Regions from separate parts of the Homo sapiens genome. Here region 1 is linked to region 2. The links are contacts of gene promoters, found by promoter capture Hi-C in blood cells and fetal thymus (Javierre and others, 2016). All regions are on one chromosome and are shown on one strand. Each heading gives the region's core, a stretch centred on a gene start or on the middle of the fragment in contact. The rest is flanking DNA. Distances are from core to core; before and after follow the strand shown. Region 1 holds the start of SLC36A4 (solute carrier family 36 member 4). Region 2 holds the start of FUT4 (fucosyltransferase 4).

The links. The method cuts DNA at HindIII sites, captures the fragments that hold promoters and counts their contacts. A CHiCAGO score of 5 or more calls a contact.
Region 1: the fragment with the promoter of SLC36A4 here is called in contact with the fragment with the promoter of FUT4 in region 2 in 5 of 17 cell types (activated CD4 T cells, total B cells, neutrophils and 2 more); the score reaches 9.0 in activated CD4 T cells.

Annotation. Positions count from the first base shown.
Region 1 is chr11:93,196,640-93,201,885 of GRCh38, forward strand. SLC36A4 (solute carrier family 36 member 4) reads right to left here and starts at 1,352. Exons shown (of 11, transcript NM_152313.4): 1 at 1,139-1,352. The coding sequence starts at 1,193. RefSeq lists a silencer at 1,114-1,493. The HindIII fragment of the contact is 1,801 bases long and covers 169-1,969 here.
Region 2 is chr11:94,540,789-94,545,845 of GRCh38, forward strand. FUT4 (fucosyltransferase 4) reads left to right here and starts at 3,133. Exons shown (of 1, transcript NM_002033.4): 1 at 3,133-5,057. The coding sequence starts at 3,346. The coding sequence ends at 4,938. It overlaps PIWIL4-AS1 (PIWIL4 antisense RNA 1), which reads right to left. Exons shown (of 5, transcript NR_135093.1): 5 at 4,544-5,057. RefSeq lists a silencer at 3,321-3,890 and an enhancer at 4,710-5,057. The HindIII fragment of the contact is 5,462 bases long and covers 1,816-5,057 here.

The DNA of each region.
Region 1 (5,246 bases), core at 102-2,601, 1.3 Mb before region 2:
ATTACAGGCGTGAGCCACCGCGCCAGGCCGATATGTACATTTTTAAGGCTAAATATATTATCCCTTTCCTGCCAGCAATGCATGAGAATACCCATTTCTCCATATCCTCACTAAGACAGGTTATTAATGAATGAAACCTGAGTTCACATTTGGGTTCTGCCATTAATAAGCTTAAAATTACTGTATCTATAAAATGGAAATCATGATAGCACCTATCTCAGTTGCTGTGAGGATTAAAGACAATGCATAGGTAAAGCACTTAGCACAGTGTTTGCACACAGTAAGCACGCAATAAAATGTTAAGTTTATTGTTTCTACCATTATTACGGCCTGAAAACAATTCCATTGCAAAGTGCCCTGCAGGCTATTAGAGGAATAACAACAACCTATCAGTTACTTATAATACGGTATTTTTTAAAGTTCAACGGTTTTCTTGAAGATTCCATTTAGATTTAATTTTTTAATTACATTTAATCAGCATCGAATGAAAAATACTCCCAAGTACAGTACGTATAACTGGGAGAGCGATCATTTTACCACCCTGATCCTTACTTTTTTATTTTGGACAGCGGGAAACCGTAAACAAACACGCCCTGTCGCCAAGAAACAAGATGGGAGGAAAGCAGCAAAAAACAAACAAACTTTGCCAAGTGAGCAAGCTACAGGTATCTCCTGTTCATTCTGGTCAGCACGACCTGTTCGAAACTCTGGGATAACAAGGAGTAAAATGAGGATTCATCTGGAGATTCCGAATGGGGCTGCAGCATTTGAAAAGCAGAACAATGATAACTTCCTTAAAGCATCATTGGGAAAAAAACCGTGAGTCACGGCGCAGGCTCTTGCGTCTTTGACGTGTACCCACAGGGCCCCGCCCCACTCAACACACACACTCACCCACACGCGCGCGCGCAAACACACACACACATATTTTAACGCCCTATTCAGGCCTGGGCTTCGTCTGACCAAGTTCTCGGGGTCAGATAACCGGTTCCTTTGCGGATGCTGACCACGGGGTCAGTTAGCAATCGGGCCTCAACTCAGGCCAAGCGCGGGGCCCCTGGAGGTGTGGGCGCACCCGACTCCCGCACAGACCCCCGCCCACGTCAGCCCCGGCTCCCTGCCCACGCACAACACCGACCTAGCTCCTCGCGCCTCGCCGCCCCGGCAGCCGCCGGCGTCGCCGCCGCTTCCATCTCTCGCGGGTCTCCAGGACGCCGCCGCCCGAGTGCTCACTCTCCCGCCGCTGCGTGGCCGGCGTCAGGCCCAGGCCTACCTCCCCTGCCCGGAGGGACCCGCGCCTGGTGCCCGCCTCCCTGCCCCGGCGCTCCCCAACCGCGCGGCGAGGAGCATGCGCAGTGGGACAGCCCGGCTCGGCGGGCACCGCCGGCGAGGGGCGGGAGGGGCCGAAGACCCGAGGACTGCTGCGAGGCCGGGTTGGGTAACCCGAGAGGAGGGTTGGGTAACCTGAGATCAGCGAGGGTGGGACCTTAGAGCTAGCCGAGACCCGGGCCCATAGCTCCCTGGGGGTTTTAAAGATGACGGCGAACTTAAATTTGGGGCGCCTGTCCGTATGCAAGGCGTTAGCGTTCTGTAAGTCACCTTGGAGAATGCGAAGAAGGACGGGATTTGTCCCCTACCCATGCTGAGGTTCTGACTACTCTGGTTATTCGTCTCCCTGTTTCTATAGTTAGAGTTACAGGAGACACTTAAATAGAATTTAATTAAGTCATATACAATTTCACTTTCAGGATATTTCAATGTCCTTCCAGATATTTGACGTTGACCGTGGTGCTGAAAGAAAATTAAGGTAAAGACTAAGTGTACTGATGTAGTTTCAAGTACTCCTAAGCACCATACATACATTATCTTTAATTCTGACTACAATTTGTGAGATAATTCTAATATTTACATTAACGCTAAAGATGAAGGGATTAAGGCACGGAGGTAAGTAACGTGTCTGGGGACAGGAAGCTTGTACATGGCAGAAGTAGAATCCTTCTGCCTTCAGAGCTGGAGCTCTCGAAAAATATGCAAAGCTGGCCTCCCAGATGGGTACCAATGAATATTCGATGAATCAATGGATGAAGCAAGCTTTTGGTTTAAAAGGAAAATATTTATTTTAATTTTAAAATCGCTTTCTTTTTTTTTTCACTTCATAGTTCTTGGAAGTCAGTACACCAGACAATCCTTTTTATTTGTGTCCGTTTCATTCAGTGGGGTTGCTTTAGGAAAGGGTTTTTTTGGGGGGGAGTGGGTCTGATTAACAGTCACTGATGTAACTATATGGCAATGGTGTTAAATATTTAAAATTCTGAGATTAAAAAGGTACGCAGTTACATACTATCTACATCTTTCCTCCTGTTGCATCCTCTGTAGGCTTTCACTAGATAACTAGTGATAATGACAGTTTGCCAACCCCCTTTCTTTTCCTTTAAGTGAACCCAATTTGTTCACATACATACACATGCAAATCCCAAAAGAAGGTTTTATTTGAAGTGTTCCTGACAAATAAAGGGGTAAAGGAGATTTTTTTTAAAAAAGAAGAAGAAGAAGAAATCTATTCTGGAACATAGCTAGAGCAATGTTCCCTAACCTGTGTTGGGGTGGATCACCTGGTTAAAGATCAGCAGGAGAGAAGATAGGCATCAGACAGAAATTATAGGACCAAGGTAATTTTCCATAAACCACTCATTATAATGAGAACATGTGGGACAGCATCTTAAAAGAACATTATCCTTTGAGAGTTAAAAGGGATCAAAAGTCATTGTCCCCTAATCTCAGCTTCAGGGAAAGCAGATCTGGCAATATGGAAGGAAGAAAAGTTTGACTTGTAGTATAGGCCTGAAATCTTTTGAAGAGGGTTGGGCTGAGGTAGGAGGCCCAATGTCTTTACAGTGATGTGGAGATAAAGCAAGTGATAACAATGATCATAAGATTCAAGAGAAATATGTTTTTCATGCATCTCTACTTGAGAACATATTTACTAGGACTTCTACTCCAGGTCTTATAAATTAGAAGCAGATATAAAGTACAGCTGTATCAAAATAGAGACATTATACAGAATGTGACAATTTGAACCCTGGAAATTCATTTCTTTTCCTGACTTTAACTTCTTGCATCACATCTTAACTACTTCCTTCTTTGCAACTGCAGCACTTTGTTCGTATCTCTGTTACAACACTTCTCCACTTATAATTATTCCTCTTTCTGGGCTTTATACTATGCTGTATACTATTATGTGCAAGGCACTGTGCTAGGCCTGTTGAGGAATTAACTGTATTTGTCTTTGTCCAAACAGGCCTAGCACAGTGACTTACAAATACCAGTCACTCAATGAACAGTTGTTGAAAGTTACTGAATATAGCCTCATAGGTATATGAAAGGAAACATTTAGAAGTCTTTAATGTATTCAAGCACATTTTACGGAGCACCTTCCATATATCAGGAAGTATGCTAGATGCTGGGGCTAGAAGGGCAAATAATGTTGGTATGGTCCCTACTGTCATGGAGTTCATAGTATATAGCATGTGACAGAACAGAACAAAACAAAATACTAAATATGTCATTACAATTGTTGGTTAGGAAAATAACAGGGTACCACCACGGAACCTACTTTAGATTGAGAAGGTGGGATAGTCTTATCTGAAGACACTTAAGCTGACACATGAAGGTAAGAAGGAGTTGGCTTGGTGTGTGTAGAGGGAAGAGCATTTCCAGCAGTGAATCTAGCCTTTCCTCTTTTACAGATGGAGAAATGGTTCTGTTTTAGACACCTGTGGAACATCTAGATAGAGTTGTCTATTATATAATAGTTAGATCTCTAAAGTTTTCTTATGTGAAAAATAATGTCACCAACCTTACAAGTTGTGAAGATTTAATGAGATAAAATATATAAAGCATTAACACATTGCCTGATTCACAGGAAGCATCAAATAAAGTGAGCATATTAGCTATAGTTTTTTTTTTTTAATTGCAATACAGAGGACAATTCAAACTAGCTTAAGCCAAAAGAGGAATTTAATGAGGACACTGAGATTGCTAGAACAGAGATGAGACTGGGCTCAGGACAACTGATTCTTATGCCTCTGAGACTCTCTTCTTCAGTGATCGCTTTTCTCTGTGCATCTGCTTGTGTGTCTGTGCAGGTTTCCACTGCAGAACTCCTCTGCTTCTCAGGTTCACCTGGTAGGAAACATGTTTCCTAAAAGCTCTCAATTCTTTTATCTTAGAGTTTGAATGATCAGAAACATACTGGTCTCTTTTTCTCGGTTTCAGTTTTAAACATTTCCTAGGGAAGAGCTGTGATTGAGTCATTTTGGATCAGATTCCCATCCCTGGACTAGTTAAGTAAGTGAGTGTTGGACAAAGTCATATATTGTGGTAGTTCCTGATACAACCATGTAGATGACATTGTGGAGAAGGAAACAGTTTTCCAAAGGAACAGCTGAGCAGACCAAATCCTATGTATCCTCTCTATTTGATTCCCCTCTGTGGAAAATATTACTCATTTTGTATCCTAAGGCTGTTGTATCCTTCTCTGTTTTCAGTGGAAATAGAGACAAGCTTCTCACCATCTTCTCATTAATATCTGGCTTAATGACTTCTCTATTCTGTTAATGAACCTAGGAAACATGCTGATCAGCACTGGTTCTCTTAAGAGGTTCTTTGTTGGAGTAATTGTTCCTGACAACCTTACTTTTATTAAGAATAACTTGATTTTATTTAACTCTTTATGACAGATTTAGCAAATTGAAAAAAACTGAAAACTAAGTGCCTGGAAAAGAGAAATGATGCAGATAGCAGAAGTTTAACTTCTTAACAAGCCTCTGCAATATTCTCAAGTAGATTTTTAAAAAAGATATTGCATCTATGAGACAGGAATAGACCGCCATAAAAAAAAAGGAATAATCAGGGAACAGAAAGTAGAGCCAAAGGACCAAAAAAAAAGAGCAAAGTGAAAAAAATAAAATGAAAGGATCCATCCAGCAATTCCAATATCTTAATCCAGAAAGAGATTAAAGAGAGAAGGAAAAAAATCAAAGTAATAATGTAACAGAATTTCTCAAAATTGAAGAACATTTGTTTCCAGATTTGAAGAATTCACTGAATGCCCAATACAACAAATGCAAACAGACCTAAGTCAAGATATATCACTGAAAAGTTTTTAGAACATTTGAGAATAATAGGAAGATTCTAAAAGCTTCCCCAGATTAAAAAAAAATGGGGGTGAAGGCAATCACATTCAA
Region 2 (5,057 bases), core at 1,883-4,382:
GGGGAAAGAGATACCAACAGATAATTTCGGTGATACATTAAGGGCATACATTCATTCAACAAATATTCACTACTAGAAACCTGGTTCCGTGGTGGGTGTTCAGGATGGAATTATGAATGAAACAGTCATGATCTCTGGATGTCCCATGATGTTCTGAAAGGTGCAGCATGTGTGAGAGTGCACAGGAGGGCCATGTAAACTACCCTGGATATATGTTTGTGGGTATCCAGAAAGGCTTCCCAGAGAAAGAAACCAGCCTCCTAAATCTCTCTGAATCTATCCTCCTTTAATTTTCTTCCTCATCCTCACAGCTACTGTCTCAGTTCAGGCCCTCTTTATTTCACATCTGAATTACAGCAATAACTTTCCAACTGCACACCACCACACCCCTACTCTTACCCTATTTTTACCCAACTCACTCTTTACTAATGACAGAATGATTTTTTCTTAGAAACTTTTTTCTAAAGTATAATGTCCACCCATAAAAGTACATATGTAAGCATACAGTTTGATGAACTTCCATAACCAAACACACCCATTAACCAGAGCCTACATTAACAGTCAGCATTCCGCAGCCCCCCCGTGTCCCCATCCATATACTCACCCTCCTTATACGTAATAAAAATAAGAATTCATTTTAAAAATGAATATCGCTTCCTTCCTTTGTTAAAGCCTTCCAAGGACTTTCTCGACAGCCTGCAGGATAAACACCATCTCCTTCGCCAAACTATACCCTAGTAATTCCTCGCCTACTGCCCCAGTCTTCCCTCCCTGGCCTCTGCAGTGCTGCTCCCTCTGTGGCAACTAACACCTCAGCCCTCTTCCTCTGCATTGTAATGATTCCTAATTATTCCAGGAGCCACCTCCTCAAAGCCTTCCATGATCCCTTCCCTCCCCACTATCTGTTTCTCTCGTAGATTTTTGAAGGTAGAAACCGTGTTTTGCATTTGTTTCCCAATTTGTTAAATGAACAAGTGAGTAAATTTATTAATTTCCCATAACTCCTTTCCTCCCTTTCCTTCTCCTCTACCCTACCAATGGCTCTTTTAAAATAAGAACAATCCAGTCCCCTGTGAATGTTTGTGCATGTATGAGATGCACAATGATCACGTATGACCTTCAACCAGCAATTTGCGAAGTCACGACTGGTTTCCATTCATCCAGACACACCTTACTACCTAGTATCCCCTCCTCCCACATCAAATAAGGGTATAGTAGGGGCAGTTTGTGGTCTCAACCCTACCGAGGTAAGAGGGCACAAAGAAAATTGATATGCATGAGACCTCGGGCATTCTTCAGGTAAAAAGATGGCTTAATTGGAACATTCGGAGGCTTAAGAGAAAATCGGGAGTGGTGGAAGGAAGCAATCAAGCAGGGTAATATTTCCCAAATGCCTACCGGCCACGTGCCAGACACAATGTTAGGCTCTATCTGTGATGTCTTATTTAACTGAAGAGGGAGAAGAATGTGAATAAATGGCTGGATTCTTGAATTGCATAAAAAGAGAAGCCAATACACTTTTTCCTTTATTTCGTTTAAACAAGTAATTTGTGCATTTATAGCTTTTTCTTTTAATTAAAAGTAAGAGTGGAAAAAAGTCACTGAAATGTCTAATTTCAAATAAAATATTTGATTTCTAATTTCTGTTTTTCAAACAAACAAAAAACCCCAGAAGCATTATGAAAGGTTTTACTGTGCAGGAGGAAATGTTACTAGGTTGATGGGCCTAGCCAGAACACCTAACATCCTCCATCTAGTCTCCAAACTGAGGCTGTGGCCCTGCAGAGAGCGCCACCCGGAAGCCACTTTTATAGAAGCTTTTACACACAATGCTTGATTTTTTTTTTTTTTTTTCCGAGACGGAGTCTCGCTTTGTCGCCCAGGCTGGAGTGCAGTGGCGCGATCTGGGCTCACTGCAAGCTCCGCCTCCTGGGTTGACGCCATTCTCCTGCCTCAGCTTCCCGAGTAGCTGGGACTACAGGCGCCCGCCACCAAGCCTGGCTAATTTTTTTTTATTTTTAGTGGAGACAGAGTTTCACCGTGTTAGCCAGGATGGTCTCGATCTCCTGACCTCGGGATCCGCCCGCCTCGGCCTCCCAAAGTGCTGGGAGTATAGGCGTGAGCCACCGCGCCTGGCCTATACTTGATTTTTAATGAAAACATTCTTAAATTCATATGGCTAACGCAAATTTATTTTCTGTAGGCATAACATCAAAAACACCTGGCAGGATTGCCCCATTCCCAGCACTGTCTATTTCTCCCCTAGTATCAGTGGGACTCCACTGATGCACAGCTGTGATCTACTAAAACTTCTCTCAAAACTTTCTCCTCTCCTTAGGTCAGCAGCCCCGCCCCTGATCTATTTGGAAATCCCCTGAATAAAAGTTGAATATCATAAACCAAAGCGAACACCCAGAAATTCAAATTCAACCCGTAGGTAAAAAATTTCTCAAGTGACTGTAGACGTAGATGTCTCCAGTGTCGCCTAATAAGGTAGAAGAGGCCAGTGCGATACTGTCTTTACACCCTTAACTTGGGTGCTAGAATATTTATCTTCGTCATCATTTTATCATCCAAACTATTTTGCATAACTTTCATGGGTGCAGAAAATGTTTTTTAAGTGCTTGGTAAAATTAATAGTGATATTCATTCATTCATCTCACTGAACAGGCAATAAATTCCTTGACGACAAGGGCCTTGGGGGGGTCACATCTTCATCTTTGGTTTATGAGTCCTGTGCGTCTTGGTACAAGCAATACTACTATGAGCCGGCAAGTCAGACTTATTTGGTAGGGGACCAAAGGAAAGAACATGTTTTGATTGCTAAGAAAACATTTTGTTCTCTATCCTTTACTGGGCTGGCAGGCAAAGGAAATGTTCTTATGAGCACTCACATTGAAAACTTAAGTTCTTCACCAAATGCAGAGACTCTGAAGGCCACGCCGCTGCGGGCTGCCTCCACAATTCGACCGTCTCGGCGGGCCACGAGATCCTGGCCACGGATGCGGTGGCCGCGCCTCTGCTCGCACGTTCCCCCGGCCTCTGGACTCCCTCCCTCCCTCAATCCCTCCCTCCGGCGGGCGTCGCTGGCGGGTGGCTAGGCCCAACGGCAGGAAGCCGACGCTATCCTCCGTTCCGCGGCGCCGGGTCCGCCTTCCGTCTGTTCTAGGGCCTGCTCCTGCGCGGCAGCTGCTTTAGAAGGTCTCGAGCCTCCTGTACCTTCCCAGGGATGAACCGGGCCTTCCCTCTGGAAGGCGAGGGTTCGGGCCACAGTGAGCGAGGGCCAGGGCGGTGGGCGCGCGCAGAGGGAAACCGGATCAGTTGAGAGAGAATCAAGAGTAGCGGATGAGGCGCTTGTGGGGCGCGGCCCGGAAGCCCTCGGGCGCGGGCTGGGAGAAGGAGTGGGCGGAGGCGCCGCAGGAGGCTCCCGGGGCCTGGTCGGGCCGGCTGGGCCCCGGGCGCAGTGGAAGAAAGGGACGGGCGGTGCCCGGTTGGGCGTCCTGGCCAGCTCACCTTGCCCTGGCGGCTCGCCCCGCCCGGCACTTGGGAGGAGCAGGGCAGGGCCCGCGGCCTTTGCATTCTGGGACCGCCCCCTTCCATTCCCGGGCCAGCGGCGAGCGGCAGCGACGGCTGGAGCCGCAGCTACAGCATGAGAGCCGGTGCCGCTCCTCCACGCCTGCGGACGCGTGGCGAGCGGAGGCAGCGCTGCCTGTTCGCGCCATGGGGGCACCGTGGGGCTCGCCGACGGCGGCGGCGGGCGGGCGGCGCGGGTGGCGCCGAGGCCGGGGGCTGCCATGGACCGTCTGTGTGCTGGCGGCCGCCGGCTTGACGTGTACGGCGCTGATCACCTACGCTTGCTGGGGGCAGCTGCCGCCGCTGCCCTGGGCGTCGCCAACCCCGTCGCGACCGGTGGGCGTGCTGCTGTGGTGGGAGCCCTTCGGGGGGCGCGATAGCGCCCCGAGGCCGCCCCCTGACTGCCGGCTGCGCTTCAACATCAGCGGCTGCCGCCTGCTCACCGACCGCGCGTCCTACGGAGAGGCTCAGGCCGTGCTTTTCCACCACCGCGACCTCGTGAAGGGGCCCCCCGACTGGCCCCCGCCCTGGGGCATCCAGGCGCACACTGCCGAGGAGGTGGATCTGCGCGTGTTGGACTACGAGGAGGCAGCGGCGGCGGCAGAAGCCCTGGCGACCTCCAGCCCCAGGCCCCCGGGCCAGCGCTGGGTTTGGATGAACTTCGAGTCGCCCTCGCACTCCCCGGGGCTGCGAAGCCTGGCAAGTAACCTCTTCAACTGGACGCTCTCCTACCGGGCGGACTCGGACGTCTTTGTGCCTTATGGCTACCTCTACCCCAGAAGCCACCCCGGCGACCCGCCCTCAGGCCTGGCCCCGCCACTGTCCAGGAAACAGGGGCTGGTGGCATGGGTGGTGAGCCACTGGGACGAGCGCCAGGCCCGGGTCCGCTACTACCACCAACTGAGCCAACATGTGACCGTGGACGTGTTCGGCCGGGGCGGGCCGGGGCAGCCGGTGCCCGAAATTGGGCTCCTGCACACAGTGGCCCGCTACAAGTTCTACCTGGCTTTCGAGAACTCGCAGCACCTGGATTATATCACCGAGAAGCTCTGGCGCAACGCGTTGCTCGCTGGGGCGGTGCCGGTGGTGCTGGGCCCAGACCGTGCCAACTACGAGCGCTTTGTGCCCCGCGGCGCCTTCATCCACGTGGACGACTTCCCAAGTGCCTCCTCCCTGGCCTCGTACCTGCTTTTCCTCGACCGCAACCCCGCGGTCTATCGCCGCTACTTCCACTGGCGCCGGAGCTACGCTGTCCACATCACCTCCTTCTGGGACGAGCCTTGGTGCCGGGTGTGCCAGGCTGTACAGAGGGCTGGGGACCGGCCCAAGAGCATACGGAACTTGGCCAGCTGGTTCGAGCGGTGAAGCCGCGCTCCCCTGGAAGCGACCCAGGGGAGGCCAAGTTGTCAGCTTTTTGATCCTCTACTGTGCATCTCCTTGACTGCCGCATCATGGGAGTAAGTTCTTCAAACACCCATTTTTGC